5 separate regions of the Homo sapiens genome follow, and regions 1, 2, 3 and 4 are each linked to region 5. The links are contacts of gene promoters, found by promoter capture Hi-C in blood cells and fetal thymus (Javierre and others, 2016). All regions are on one chromosome and are shown on one strand. Each heading gives the region's core, a stretch centred on a gene start or on the middle of the fragment in contact. The rest is flanking DNA. Distances are from core to core; before and after follow the strand shown.

What was found. The method cuts DNA at HindIII sites, captures the fragments that hold promoters and counts their contacts. A CHiCAGO score of 5 or more calls a contact.
Region 1: a fragment that was not itself captured here is called in contact with the fragment with the promoter of LOXHD1 in region 5 in 14 of 17 cell types (M0 macrophages, total CD8 T cells, megakaryocytes and 11 more); the score reaches 17.2 in M0 macrophages.
Region 2: a contact is called between a fragment that was not itself captured here and the fragment with the promoter of LOXHD1 in region 5, in 2 of 17 cell types (M1 macrophages and monocytes). The highest score is 5.7, in M1 macrophages.
Region 3: a contact is called between the fragment with the promoter of ELOA2 here and the fragment with the promoter of LOXHD1 in region 5, in 4 of 17 cell types (M2 macrophages, megakaryocytes, endothelial precursors and 1 more). The highest score is 9.0, in M2 macrophages.
Region 4: the fragment with the promoter of PIAS2 here is called in contact with the fragment with the promoter of LOXHD1 in region 5 in 6 of 17 cell types (endothelial precursors, M0 macrophages, megakaryocytes and 3 more); the score reaches 11.5 in endothelial precursors.

Annotation. Positions count from the first base shown.
Region 1 is chr18:46,282,403-46,285,102 of GRCh38, reverse strand. No RefSeq gene overlaps it. Among named protein-coding and RNA genes, the nearest start is that of ARK2C, 50 kb to the left of the region's middle. The HindIII fragment of the contact is 2,282 bases long and covers 283-2,564 here.
Region 2 is chr18:46,264,335-46,267,034 of GRCh38, reverse strand. ARK2N (arkadia (RNF111) N-terminal like PKA signaling regulator 2N) reads right to left here. Exons shown (of 5, transcript NM_145055.5): 5 at 43-2,700. Among named protein-coding and RNA genes, the nearest start is that of ARK2C, 68 kb to the left of the region's middle. The HindIII fragment of the contact is 6,556 bases long and covers 1-2,700 here.
Region 3 is chr18:47,034,266-47,036,965 of GRCh38, reverse strand. It overlaps ELOA2 (elongin A2), which reads left to right and starts at 1,345. Exons shown (of 1, transcript NM_016427.3): 1 at 1,345-2,700. The coding sequence starts at 1,702. The region is part of intron 3 of KATNAL2 (katanin catalytic subunit A1 like 2); the gene reads right to left. The HindIII fragment of the contact is 9,917 bases long and covers 1-2,700 here.
Region 4 is chr18:46,916,083-46,918,782 of GRCh38, reverse strand. PIAS2 (protein inhibitor of activated STAT 2) reads left to right here and starts at 1,276. Exons shown (of 14, transcript NM_004671.5): 1 at 1,276-1,461. The coding sequence starts at 1,438. It overlaps KATNAL2 (katanin catalytic subunit A1 like 2), which reads right to left and starts at 1,181. Exons shown (of 18, transcript NM_001387690.1): 1 at 857-1,181. RefSeq lists silencers at 1,017-1,756, 1,827-1,906 and an enhancer at 1,127-1,880. The HindIII fragment of the contact is 2,459 bases long and covers 592-2,700 here.
Region 5 is chr18:46,655,879-46,658,578 of GRCh38, reverse strand. It overlaps LOXHD1 (lipoxygenase homology PLAT domains 1), which reads left to right and starts at 1,359. Exons shown (of 41, transcript NM_001384474.1): 1 at 1,359-1,675. The coding sequence starts at 1,546. RefSeq lists enhancers at 302-351, 162-1,111. The HindIII fragment of the contact is 3,833 bases long and covers 1-2,700 here.

The sequences.
Region 1 (2,700 bases), core at 174-2,673, 370 kb after region 5:
AGGATTGCTTGAGCTCAAGAAGGCAAGGCTGCAGTGAGCCATGATTGTGCCACTGCACTCCAGCCTGTGTGACAGAGCAAGATCCTATCTCAAAAAAAGAAAAAAAAAAAAAAGGAAGAAAAGAAAGAAAAAGAAAACAAAATTATTTGATAACGCAAGTCCCTGGGAGTTTGATTTGACATGATTTTAATGAGTTAATTCCAGGATGGGCACAGTTCTTCGCAAAGTGCTCCCAAACCACCTGTTTAATAATTCTAGAATGCTACTGAGTGTCGTTAAGCTTACATCCCAGGAATCATGTTCTTCACTTTTTGGAAATCGGGACATTTTGCTCCCTCTGGCTGGTTGGTCCTTCCTCTCTTTCTGAACTCATCCTAAAAGTCCTGTCTCCTTCTCCGGCCATTCAGGACCACTCGGTGGACTCTCCCTTCCTGCAATTGTGGTAATTATTCAGAACCAGAATGAAACAACAGCAGTAGTAATAGCTGCCACATACTGGGAGCTTGCTCTATGCCAGACACCACGCTCAAGGACTTCACAATGCTTCATCACGTGTATCACTTAGCACTGTATCATACTTTTGAATATATATGTGTGTGTGTAAAGTTTTAATCACTTGAATAACAGCTGCTATTATGACCATTTAGCAGATGAAGAAACTGATTCAGAGAGGTTCAGGCTCCTGCACTGAGCCTTAGACAGTGAACAATTTCAGGGTCCAAACCTGGGTTTATCTGGGTCCAAAGTCCAAGTTCTTACTTCCTCTACCCTGGCATTGTTTCTGGGGCTTTCTATGATTTCTGAGGCTTCCATCTGAATATTTCTGGCACGTCCTGTGCAGCACCTAACATGGCCATAGGCACACAGTAAGGGAGTCCTTAGGGGCCAAGTGGTTTTTCTAGAGCACTGGCCGTGGTCCTGCCTCTTGTGGGTGCTGGTGTCATCTTTCACCTCTACCTCCAGGCACCGGGAGAAGCTGACTGGAGGGGATTTGGCAGAGGCCAAAGAGGGCTCAGCCCAGCTGTCTCCACCTCTCTTGCTGGATGGGAGAGGCACCACATTACAGAAACTGATATACCCAATGCCCTGAGACCCAGGGAGGGCAATCCTGTGAGAAGTTTCCACCCTTTGTTCTCTCCCACCGAGCCCCCAGGGGCTGATAATCTAATTCTCAACAAGTCCTTCCTGGCTGGTAATTGAATTGTGTTTTCCTCCCAGTCCAATCAGGGCCCTCATCCTACATCTGTCTGACAAAACACTAGGCCAGGCATCTTGGGAGGGGCAGAGACCTGGGAGGCACTTTTCAGCTTCCAGGAGCTTAATATTTCAGTTGCCACAGGTGCAGGGACTGACATCCTATTGACTAGCAATCCATGACTGCTGCCCACTTCCAGGACAATCGCTGAGGTCAGGAGGGCTCAAGGCGGTGAGCCTTAAAGGAGGGTTGTGTTGTGGAGGAGGGGATGATGGTCAGCTGGGTTCTGGTAGACAGGGAGGAAAGGCGGAGGTGTGGGCAAAGTCCTGGAGGTGGGAACATGCACGACACATTCAAGTAACAAGAAGTAAGTCTGCCTGGATGGGCCTTCACTGTCTTCAACCGAGGGATGACGAATGACTCCAAAACACTCAAATTGTTCCTGGGAAGTCGGGTGGGGGGAAGTGTGAGTCAGCAGGCTCCTCTCACTATGCCTATGGCCCAGCCTCGGTCTACAGAACAGAGAGAGCCTGGTGCTGGAACTGGGTGTGCAAGGGTGCCCCAAATCAGGACACAACCACCTCATTCGTCCAGCCCAGAAATAGGGACATTTCTTCATCTCCTCTCCCACTCCTACCTAATCTAATCTGTCTCCAAGTCCTGCCTATTTCACCATCTCAGCTCTTCAGTCATCTCTCTGGCAGGCAGGCACTGTCACATCTCCCCCGTCTCTTGGGGACGAGCCCCTCCCTGATTGCTCTCCTCCACCTTGTTGCTCTCTGGCACATCCACACATATCTCCATGTGGCTCCCCCATGCATGCCACTTTCCATGGCTTCCCAGTGCCTTTAGGTCCAGAGCCTTTTGTGGCTTTGTCCTCTCATCTGGCTGGTGCCATCTCTTGCGACTCTTAAGCTCCCCAAAACATTCTGGTTTAGTGCTGGGCCTTTAGCTCAATTTATGATTACAACGCCCATACCACCAGTGCCTTCTATATGTGCTTAATCCTCACGGAAACCCCGTGTGGAAGAGGAACAGAGAGGTTAAGTGACTTGTCTGTGGTCACACAGCTGGTAAGGGCGGAGCAGGATTCGCACCCAGGTGACTTATTCCCATAGCCCAGCTTCTTTATTTTTAGAGACAGCGTCTTGCTCTGTCACCCAGCCCAGAGTACAGGGACATGATCATAGCTCATTGGAACATTGAACTCTTGTAGTCCAGCTTCTTAACACTAGATTATAGTCTCTTCAGAAATGTCTATGGACACCAGTGGCCTCCTAGCCCTCCACATTCCCCTCCAACGTATGTTCACTATCAAGTCCCAACTGCATTTAAGGTTTCTGCTTATCTGACACCCCTCCACGAAGCTTTCTCTGGTGCCCCACTGTCCAGGTTTGGGTTAGGGTAGTGGTTCCCCTACTTTAATGCACACTGGAATTACCTGGGAATCTTTGTAAAAATCCTGCTGCCTGACTCCCACTCCTAGACATTGCGATTAAATCAGT
Region 2 (2,700 bases), core at 5-2,504, 390 kb after region 5:
CAGATAGGGACAAAGAAAAAAAAAAAAAAACCTCAGAAGATATCATTGTTTAAATACACTCTATTTTATTTTGTCTTAAAATAGTTTAACCTTTATGCTACAGACTTATTTCAAAAAACAGAAAATCTTATCTTGCACCAAAAAATATATATATAACACTCTGTTTTATTATTTTTTCTCCAAAGACCATTAAATACTAAAGGGAAACAAAAACGAAATAATGAATGTAAAGAACCAAATTTTGTTTTAAAAACTAGAGTTGCACATTTGAAAACATTAATTCTAAGCAATGATTTGTCATCACTGCATCAAGTCCACGCTCACACTCCAGCAACAGCAGATCCATTAACTGCCAAGTGCATTGGTTCCTAGCCATACAATGGCTAACATTTCATTTTCACGGTAAGAGGAGCAAAAGGCTTCAATGGCCTCTGTACTCTTTAAGAAACAAAACAACAACAAAAATATTTCCTAGTTATCCAGTGATTTTTTTTTAAGATCACTACCTTTTAAAATTTGTTAAGAGAATAAGAAGTAAGTAGTGTTTTAAATAAAATGAAAAAATACAACAGCATCAGACTAAAATACGTGATTATTTTAAACAAACAGTGCACAATCTGAGGAAGTTTGGTTAGGGCACAATCATTTTTATATCTACATGGAAGTCACATCATACACATATTGGAGAACAGGGATTGGGGAGCTTGCTTTGCCTTAAAAAAGTTTAAAACTAAAAGACAAAATAGTGTCCCCAGCTTTTTCAAAAACCTTTGTGACAGTATAAAAAGCAGGTAACAAACTTAGTTTTAAGTTAGTTATGGTGCTAATCTGCTAAAAGTAAAGATGAACAAATGACTACATTAGTAAACCAGACAATTCATATTCATAATTGATAATAAAAGCAAAGTTTATGGGATGTTTGATTGCCAAGAATAAACTGAATGAAATAAATTGAATAAAAAAGAATGCATTATTCATTCAGTCTGGCCCCTACCATCAAAATGAAAAGACAATTACTGGAGAGCAGCAATTACAGGTTACATGGCAGTCATGATGATGCAACAGCTAGGTCACTGCTCTGTTTTTCACAAATTGGAGGGGGTGGAAACTTAACCAAGTCAGTGGCATAAACCAATCTGTGACCCACATGTACCATTTTAGCAGAGAGATTACTCTGAAGACAATGTCCTGTGAAGCATAAAGAACTACTTATGCTACCAAATGTAAAACTTTGATTAAGAAAAACCCCTTTAAAAGAAACTTCAAATGTCACAGGAGCTGTATACCACGGAATTGTATCATTAATACCTTGCCTGAAACCACACTCTCCACTCTTCTGGAAACAGCAATGAAAAGAGAGTTGAAACACAGTCTCTCTATAGTTATTAGGGGAAATGACCCAACCTAGTAGGGGAGAGCTGTCTATCTCTACCATCCCTTCCCCTCCCCCTCTGCATCTTAATATCCAAATCTCCGTTCTGGTCCATTAAGTCAGGCAGTTGGGAGCTGGACTAGGAATAAGTGAGGCAAAAGTGCAAGCTGACATAAAGGCAAAGGGCCAGAGAAGAGACTGGTTACAGCTCCACTCTGTTCCTAATCCACAGTGCACACAGCACGCCAACTCTGTAGAGGATGACTATATTAGGGACTATGAAGAAAATATGTCACACGGGAAATCACCTGCTGTGTGGAATTGGGAAAAAAAATATGTGGTTAACATAAGAACAGGTCATGCAAAAACATTCATTAAAATGGGCCTCTGCCCTGACAGTGGGGGAAAAAATAAGCTGCAAAAACTTCAAGTCACATCATCCACTCTATTCTCTTCTCTATGAATTTCCTGGAAAACACAGACCAGAAATTGTACATTTCTGCTTTGTCTAGTATTTTAATTCAAGTCAAAAACTATGTGTAACAGTAAAATTCAATAAATTAATCCTAAAGTAAAATGTGAAGGTCCAAGGATACACCAGTAGTGAATCTTCAGAAGGTCCTACTTTGCTCTGGCCTCTGGGTCTTTGGTTTTTGTCTAGAATTGTGGCCATGTGAGAGACTGATATATGAGTTGCTAAAGCTGGAGGTTCATGATCTTAAAAGCCTTATCTAACAAAAGCAGAAAATAAAAATAAAAAAAATAAAAGCTGATGAAGGACAGAGGCCAGATCAAATGAGATGCTATCAGAGAAGATCAAAGAACATATGCACAAATACATTCCTGTGGAAGAAGGAACATACAGGAGAACTAATGCAACAAGAAGCGTAAAGGAATAAACTTGTCTTTACAAAAAAAAAAAAAAAAGAAGAAGATGAAGAAGAAGAAGAAGAACAGGCTGGGCAGGTGGAGGCAGGCAGACACTGATGCATGTGTATGTGCGGTGTGTGTCATTCATCTCAGCAGCCCCCAGAGCACCCACCCCTCACAGTGCCTTATGCAGAGCAGGCACTTGGTAAATTTGTTTGCTGAATGAAAACTGAAAATGGTAATTCTCATACTCTTAATGATAAGAAGAGCCACCAGGGGATTTGGAGAGACAGGCAAAGGGCCATAGCAACGGTAACAATGGAAACAAAAACAAAAACAAAACAAACAAAAACCATGAAAAACAAAAGGTGAAGTCTTCTAAGCCAATATTACTTCACTCCCCCTGTGCAGAGTACATAGTGTTCTAACTCTAGGTATTGCTTTTAAAAGAATTCACT
Region 3 (2,700 bases), core at 96-2,595, 380 kb before region 5:
GTTCTAATTTGTTTCTTGTTTGTTTCCTGACTATCTCCTGGCTCTGCCAGGAAACTTCCTAACTTTCAAATGCTGTACAACCCAAAAAAATGCTAGAAATATCAAAAGAAGTGTCTACAGATCCAGAAAAGACATTTATTGAATTTAATACAATGTCAGAATTGGTCAACTATGCTCAGAAACATAGGACCAAGTGTTCCCTAATTTGAGAGGGTAAATAAGTAACAACAGAAATAAGAGAAAAAACCATAGATATTTCAAATGATCCTGTTTTAATAATTGTCACTGAAAATTAAAGTCCGATCCAGATACCAAATCTGTTTCAACAATAATAGCTAGAGACAAGAGTAAAAATTTCTTTAAAGTTTTAAAACAGGTGGAAGAAGATCCAGAAATATTTATTCCAAGATTTGTAAGCGGGGATAAAACATGGCTACACTGGATAGTCCTGAAGAAAGAGCACAAAACAAAGGCTACCAAAAGGTGGCAGCACTCCAGTCAAAGACAGAGAGGACCAGTCAAGAGAAGAGGTCATGGCAACAGTTTTGGGGAATGCTCAAAAGATATGACTAAAAGACTTTTTGAAGGGCCAAACCAAGATCAAATATGCTTACTAACAGAGTTTTTGAGAAAACTAGCCAAAGCATGAGCAGAAAAACCATTACCAGAGAGTTCTACCTAATCATGAAAAAGTTCTTGCTGTAGCATTTCACTGAACAAAGGGCAGTTTGGCAAGAGTTTCAAAAGGAGATCATGAGGCGTCCACCTTGCAGTCATGATGTGGAACCTGCTGACTTCTATTTATTTCCTCGTATTAAAAATTCTGCAAACGGCACCCAGTTTTCTTCAGTTAATAATGGAAAAAAGATTTCTTGGAAATAGTTAAATTCCCAGAAACATCAGGGCTTGAGGGACAAGGCGGGGTCAAGACAGTGCTCGAACTACTGTCTCGAAATTGATGGAGCAGATGTTAAGAAATAAAATCTACCGGTTTTATTTTTGTCTTTTAATCCCTGTTTTGACAAATTTGGGAAGTCCCCTCACACAACATCAGTCCTAGGCAAAGAGTTGTTATCCTGTATTGGTTCTTCTTTCTATGATTTTGTCTTGCTGTGTTATTTTCTGTTTTACTCCCAAGAAGATTCAGTCTGTGTTTTTTGGAATTCACAGATGTGGAACCTGCGAACATGGAAGGTCAACGGTAAAACTCAGTGGGGTGTGTCGAGGCTGAAATTAACCTAATCAACCTCTGGGGCACAGCAGTCCACCTGGCGTGGACCGTCCCGATTGTCTGCATTGTGCTGACGGCATGAGTACGTATGGGGGCGGGGCAGCCCAAGAGCTAAGAGGGTCAGGGCTAGAGCCGTGAGTGTCAGCCTGGGATGGGCTACATAAGGCCCAGCTCTGGCACCAGAGCTTCATTCTTTGTTGCACAGCAAACTGCAGAGGTCACTCCAGGCTGTGGCTCCACATCCCGAGGAACAAAAGCGGGCCTGCTCAGCTGTCTGCAAGGACGGCCGTTCCAGACCAAGTGGCCTGCTGCTCCGAGGACCCAGCTCGCTCCAGGCTGTGACTCCACATCCCGAGGTCGCTGCCTGGCGACCGGGCAGCGAGGACCGGCCACCCCAGACTTCCTGTCCCGCAGCCCCAAAGACAGAGCTGCGACCGCCGGGACAGCGACGCCTGCACAGCTCTGGTGAGATGGCGGCAGGGTCCACTACGCTGCACGCAGTGGAGAAGCTGCAGGTGCGTCTGGCCACTAAGACGGAGCCGAAAAAGCTAGAGAAATATTTGCAGAAACTCTCCGCCTTGCCCATGACGGCAGACATCCTGGCGGAGACTGGAATCAGAAAGACGGTGAAGCGCCTGCGGAAGCACCAGCACGTGGGCGACTTTGCCAGAGACTTAGCGGCCCGGTGGAAGAAGCTGGTGCTCGTGGACCGAAACACCCGGCCTGGCCCACAGGACCCTGAGGAGAGCGCTTCCCGACAGCGCTTCGGGGAGGCTCTTCAGGACCAGGAAAAGGCCTGGGGCTTCCCAGAAAACGCGACGGCCCCCAGGAGCCCATCTCACAGCCCTGAGCACAGACGGACAGCACGCAGAACACCTCCGGGGCAACAGAGACCTCACCCGAGGTCTCACAGTCGCGAGCCCAGAGCTGAGAGAAAGTGCCCCAGAATAGCCCCAGCTGATTCCGGCCGCTATCGGGCCTCTCCAACGCGCACAGCTCCCCTCCGGATGCCCGAGGGCCCTGAGCCCGCTGCGCCCGGGAAGCAACCCGGAAGAGGCCACACTCACGCGGCTCAGGGCGGGCCTCTGCTGTGTCCAGGCTGCCAGGGCCAACCCCAGGGGAAAGCCGTTGTGAGCCACAGCAAGGGGCACAAATCGTCTCGCCAGGAAAAACGCCCCTTGTGTGCCCAGGGAGATTGGCACTCCCCTACTTTGATCAGGGAGAAATCATGCGGGGCCTGCTTAAGAGAGGAAACCCCAAGGATGCCCTCCTGGGCAAGTGCCAGGGACAGGCAGCCTTCGGACTTCAAGACAGACAAGGAAGGGGGGCAAGCTGGCAGCGGCCAGCGTGTCCCTGCCTTGGAGGAGGCTCCAGACAGTCACCAGAAGAGGCCTCAGCACAGTCACTCGAACAAGAAGAGGCCCAGTCTAGACGGCCGGGACCCAGGAAATGGGACACACGGCCTGTCG
Region 4 (2,700 bases), core at 27-2,526, 260 kb before region 5:
AGAGTGGGAAATTATTCTTGGTTCAAGGATCAACATTTAGAAGCCTTAAAACTTGAGGGGAGGCCGGGTGCAGTGGCTCACGCCTGTAATCTCAGTACTTTGGGAGGCCGAGGCGGGCGGATCACCTGAGGTCCGGAGTTGGAGACCAGCCTGACCAACTTGGAGAAACCTCGTTTCTACCAAAAATACAATCGCAGCTACTCGGGAGGCGGAGGTAGGAGAATCGCTTGAACCCGGGAGGCAGACATTGCGGTGAGCCGAGATCGTGCCATTGCACTCCAGCCTGGGCAACAAGAGCAAAACTCCGTCTCAAAAAAACAAAACTTGCGGGGTGCGGGGGCAGGGGAGTGGAAGGAAGACCTGGAAGTGCAGTGCGGATGAAACGAGGGGTAGTGGGAAGAGGCGGTAGGTAGGAGGCTGATTAAACAGGGCCTTAAAAGTTACATTGTTTTAAAGACCTCTCGTGTGTGGGTTCCACCCAATTCTTCAAGGAAATTGAACCCTGGACACCGTCCAGCGATTTTTCTGGCCATCTTGACTCAGCATCTTCCTTCATCCTATATCAGCACATTACGGGGGGGCCATCAAGCTTCCTTCTATCTACTTACTCTGCCTTGGCGTTTGACTCCTTCCTAGCTATCAGATTTCCCCGACTTTTTAGCATGGCCCTTCTGAGCGCTCTTATTTCACTTCTCCCCGCCCCCAACCCCACCGCCTAACTCTCCCAACTCTGCAGTCCGTGACCTTCAGGTGCCCTTCAAGGTCAGAAAAACTCGGCAAGGTTGGTACTTGCAGGACATTAGCAATTCAAAGAGGTGTCACACAACCTCACCATTAGATGGGAACAATAGCTTACCCAACACCCATATTTAGATTATTCCGCCACAACTACTCTGGGGGATGGTTTTATTTGCGGCGGCTTTCTCCGTCCATAGGCACCGCGTGAAGGGCACCGTAAGAATCTTCCCGAATGCTCCTGTCACGCGTCCCGGCCGCCTCTTCTTCCTCCCCGCCACTTCCCGAGGCCAGGCCCGCGGATAACGCCTCAGTTGCGACCCAGCTCTAGGCAGTCCGCAGGGGCCTCCGCCGGGGAGGGAAGGCACGACCTGGGGCCGAGCGGGGCCAAGCCGCGGGGCAGCACGCCGGGGCAGGCGCGGGCGGGCGCTGTCGCCGCGCGGACTGAAGGCGCGGGCGGAAGGCGGTCGCGCGGGTGGGCAGGGGGCACCGCTAGGGGCGGGGCTTCGGCGCGTCGGAGGCGGAGCTCCCGCGCCGTTCACGTGACGGGCCCGGCTGTAGCGGCGGCGGCCGCGGCGTCTTAAGCGGCGCCCAGTGCAGGATGGTGCTGGAGGCGGCGGCGGCCGTGGTGGCGGCAGCGTCGTTGGCGGCAGCGGGAGTGGGTGCGGCGGCAGCGGCGGCGGCGCCCGCGGGTGGTATAAAATGGCGGATTTCGAAGAGTTGAGGGTAAGCGGGAGTGGAGAGCGGAGGCCGCGGGGGAGGGGATGGGAGAGGAGGTGGGGAAACCGCAACGTCGCCGGCCGCCGCCTGCTCGTGCCTCTGGGGCCGGTTGGCGGAGCCCTGAGCCCCGGCCCGCGGACGAACGGGCGCCGAGGGCGCGGGGGAGGGGAGCGGGCCGGCGGAGGGCACGCGGGCGGCGCGGGGGCGGCGGGCCTGGGCCGCGGCGAGCCGGCTCCTGAGTGCTGCCAGTGGTCCGCACACCTGGCGCGGGGGGTCGGGGCGCCCTCCAGGAGGGGCACATGGGGACCCGACATCCCGGTTCGCAGTGAGGGCCGATGTGGGAAGCAACGTTTGATCTTGCACCTTCACCGGGGTGTACGTGTCTGTGGCTATTCACAAGTCTGCATGCTACTCACTTGGTGGAGGACTGTTTTCTGAAAGCTGAAGTTGCGTTTAGGAATCTCTCCTCTTCTTATGGCTGATGCTACCGTTTAGTCAGGTCTGTCACGAGAAAAGGCCCCTTCTCCCACCCTTGCCTCCTAACATCTTCGAGGAACCTAATGTTTGGGGATCCCTGCCTTCAATAATCGGCCTTAAACCTCGATATTTTCTTAGTGTTTTAGTAAGAAATCTGCAAAGTCTATGTTGTGAGGTTTGTGCACCCCTTTTACTCTTGAGGAAAAATATTTTTTTCTTCTCAGTCTTAAAACAAGATCATAACTTTATTGTTGATACCCTTGTATAGCAGAGGTCTGGAATAGGGCTGTGATGGGGGTAGAACAGAAGAGACTTTTTCCCCCCAGACTGATAACCTTTAAAGTCCTAACTAAGTGTGACGAATGAGATGGATTTGTGTGTATCGCTGAATTACTGGCGACATAAATGAGATGTTTACGGACAGAAACCCTGATTTTTTTTTTTTTTAAATGTATCAAGGTAGAGATGAGTGTAAACTTGAAATTACATTTACTGCAACTCGTTTGTGTAACACTTATGATATTAGGATTTCTTTTTCAAATAAGGAAGAGGAATCCGGTAAAAGGTTCAGTTTTGTATATTTATTGTTTTCCGCAAGAGATGGGATGGGGGAAGGATGTTGGCTGGTTACCTGCTTAGTGGACGTGAGCAAAAGAACGTATCCTCTGCTCTAAACGGAGATTGTTGGAGTTTGCACAGTGCCTGCCATATTCCCTCCTGCTGTTTCAAAAATAATTATTAAGTTCCCAGTAAACACATATTAATACA
Region 5 (2,700 bases), core at 110-2,609:
CCCTGAATGGGTACTCGTGTAAAATGAGTTTTCTTAGTAGATTCCTAGAGATCCTTAAGGAAGGTCTCTTCCTGAAGAATCCAGGTGTGTAAACCACATATTGCCAGAAGGGGGCGCGCGCCACCCACCATTAAACTTCACTCCTGGTCCTCAGAGGACTTTGAGCTGCTTCAAGGGCGGCCCCTCAGCTGAATAGGGGAAGAGGGGAGGTTGATCTTTCCTGGGTAGGAACGTTCGGGGTTAGAGATGCCTCCCCCTAGTGGAAGATTTGGATGGCTCCAAAGAGCAGGGCAGGACCAAAGCTGCCCCAGGCTGCCGGGGAGGCCTGTGAGTGCCGACTGCTCCTCAGGCGTCCGCTCCAAATCCTCTCTTCCTCTCCACCTGAAATTCCCCTTTAGAGTCACTATTTTGGCTTAGAGGACAAAATCACACGTGTTGCTTCTAGAGGACTCCTGTTAGCACACCTAAGTTACCTGAGAAGCGATTCAGGGACCCTCAACATGGCTGCACATGAAAGTCACCAGGAGCTTTAAAAACTGGGGCCCAAGCTGCGTCCCAAACCAAGCAAATCAGAATCCTTGGGGATGGGACCCACGCATTAGCGTTCAACACCTCTCTGGGGGCTTCTGGTGTGCAGCCCGGGCTGTGCGCCCTGGGGTAGGAGCTTGCTGATGCCCTCCCGTGAGTCCAGGTGGTGAGCTGATCTAGTTAGTGAGTTCACCTGGGAGGGCATCGGCTACGATGATGTTTAAACTTTAGTGCATATAAAGCTCACCTGGCAGGGGGAGCGGGGAGAGTTTTCTGGTGCCCTAGCTTTCCTCGTGCCCAGAGGCCACTTCCGGAAGCCCGCAGTCTTGATGAGATGGAAGCAGAGAGAGAGAACGAGAAGGATCCAGCGAGAACCCCGCCTGCTCCGTAAGACGATCAGAGGTCATGAATAATGGAGAGAAACGGGGGCCTTTGAGTCCTGGGAGCCTGGCTGATTCCGGGGCCCCGCCTTCCTCAGGAGGGTCCCGTGTGGGCTGTAAGGCTTGGGAGATCTCCTGGGTGAGGAGCCCTCACCTGTCCCTGGGGTGGCCTGGAGGGATCCCAGGTGACCCCCTGGCTGTGAGGCCAGGTGGGAAATGGACTTCAAGGGCTCCGTGTCACCTGATTCTCCATAGGGAGGAGAGAGGGCTGGTGGGGAGGGGAGAGAGGAAGGAAGTCAGCCTGCCCTCAGCGCCATGAATAAGTGATGAGGCCCAAAGAGAAGCCCCGGGGCAGGTACAGAGGAGGAGGAGGTGGCTCACCAGAGGGTGGTGGGAGGGGACAGGGACAGGAGGTTCAGAGATAAGGCACTGAGGTTCAGCTCAGGAGCCAGAGAAGGCAGAGGGAACAGCACCTTGGGCACGGGGAAGCCAAGAAAACGGGGCACTCTGGCCCACCCAGGCCTGAGCTATAGGAGGGCCGTGGGCGCCAGAGCTCAGGGAGGAGGTCTCAGGTTCCCGCAGGTGTGAGGAGGCGGCACAGTGAGCCTGCGAGCGCTGGGAGAAGGCAGCCGACAGAATGATGCCCCAGAAGAAAAGGCGGAGGAAGAAGGACATCGACTTCCTGGCCCTGTACGAAGCGGAGCTGCTGAACTACGCCTCGGAGGACGACGAGGGGGAGCTGGAACACGAGTACTACAAGGCCAGAGGTGCGGGGTCCCAGCCTGCGGGGGGCGGGTGGTGCAGCTGGCTGCGGTGGGCAGGGGTCTGTTCCTGTCTATGGGGAGTCATTCTAAGATTTCGGAGCAAGCCCTTCCTCACTGATTATCCCATGTGTCTGTTCCATATCCCCTCGGAGTAAGAAGGCAGGCATTATGCAGGGATGGTGGGGTCCCTGTTGTACAGACAGGTGGAGCAACTTGCCTTTAGCCCCCGATTCTCAGTGGAACAGAATAGACTAGAGCCACAGTGCCCCCATGGCCCCATGTTCTCCAGCTCCTGAACATCCCCAAAGCCACGTTCCAGTCTGGTCCCCGAGTAGGTGGTCTGCATCAGGCAGAGCGCCCTGAACTGCTGGGGTCATGAAAGGATGTCTTGGGGAGGAAGCCTGACAGCTCATCCTATGCCCACTGTGGTTGATGGAGACAGGGAGCCTGGGGCTTTGCAAGGAGATGTCCATCCCATATGTCGAAGGCGGCCGGTGCTCTGGACCCCAGGGCCTTGTCCTTCTAGTCTCATCTTTCCCTGGGCCACATGAGACCTGCTTGAAATTGCTCTAACTCCTTGCCAGGTAAACCAAAGAAGTGAACTGTGACCCTAGAGCTGGTTTTGGCCAGCAGAGTTTAAGTTGTTTTTTTCCTTTCCAGCGTTTTGAAATCCTTTTTTCTGTGAATGCCAATAGGCTGTGGACGTCCAGCTTATCACAGTCTCCACCACTCCCTGTCATCTCATACTAGGTCTGGTTTACTCATCAGTGCTGCCTGCCTAGTCTCTGAAGCCATTTAAATTCTCAATGCTGACTCCAAAGTGGCTCACCAGTCCCCGTAAGCGCCATAGTCATCCATGCATTCACTCATTCATTCATTCAGCAAGTATTTATTGAATGTGTGCTCTGTGCCTGCCCATGGCCTTGTTTGTCTTCCCCTTTCTCCCTCTTCCTGTCCTCACTCTGAAAGCCCAGTTCTGATCCCATCTCTTCCATGAAGCCCTCCTTGATTCCAGTCCACCATGAGTT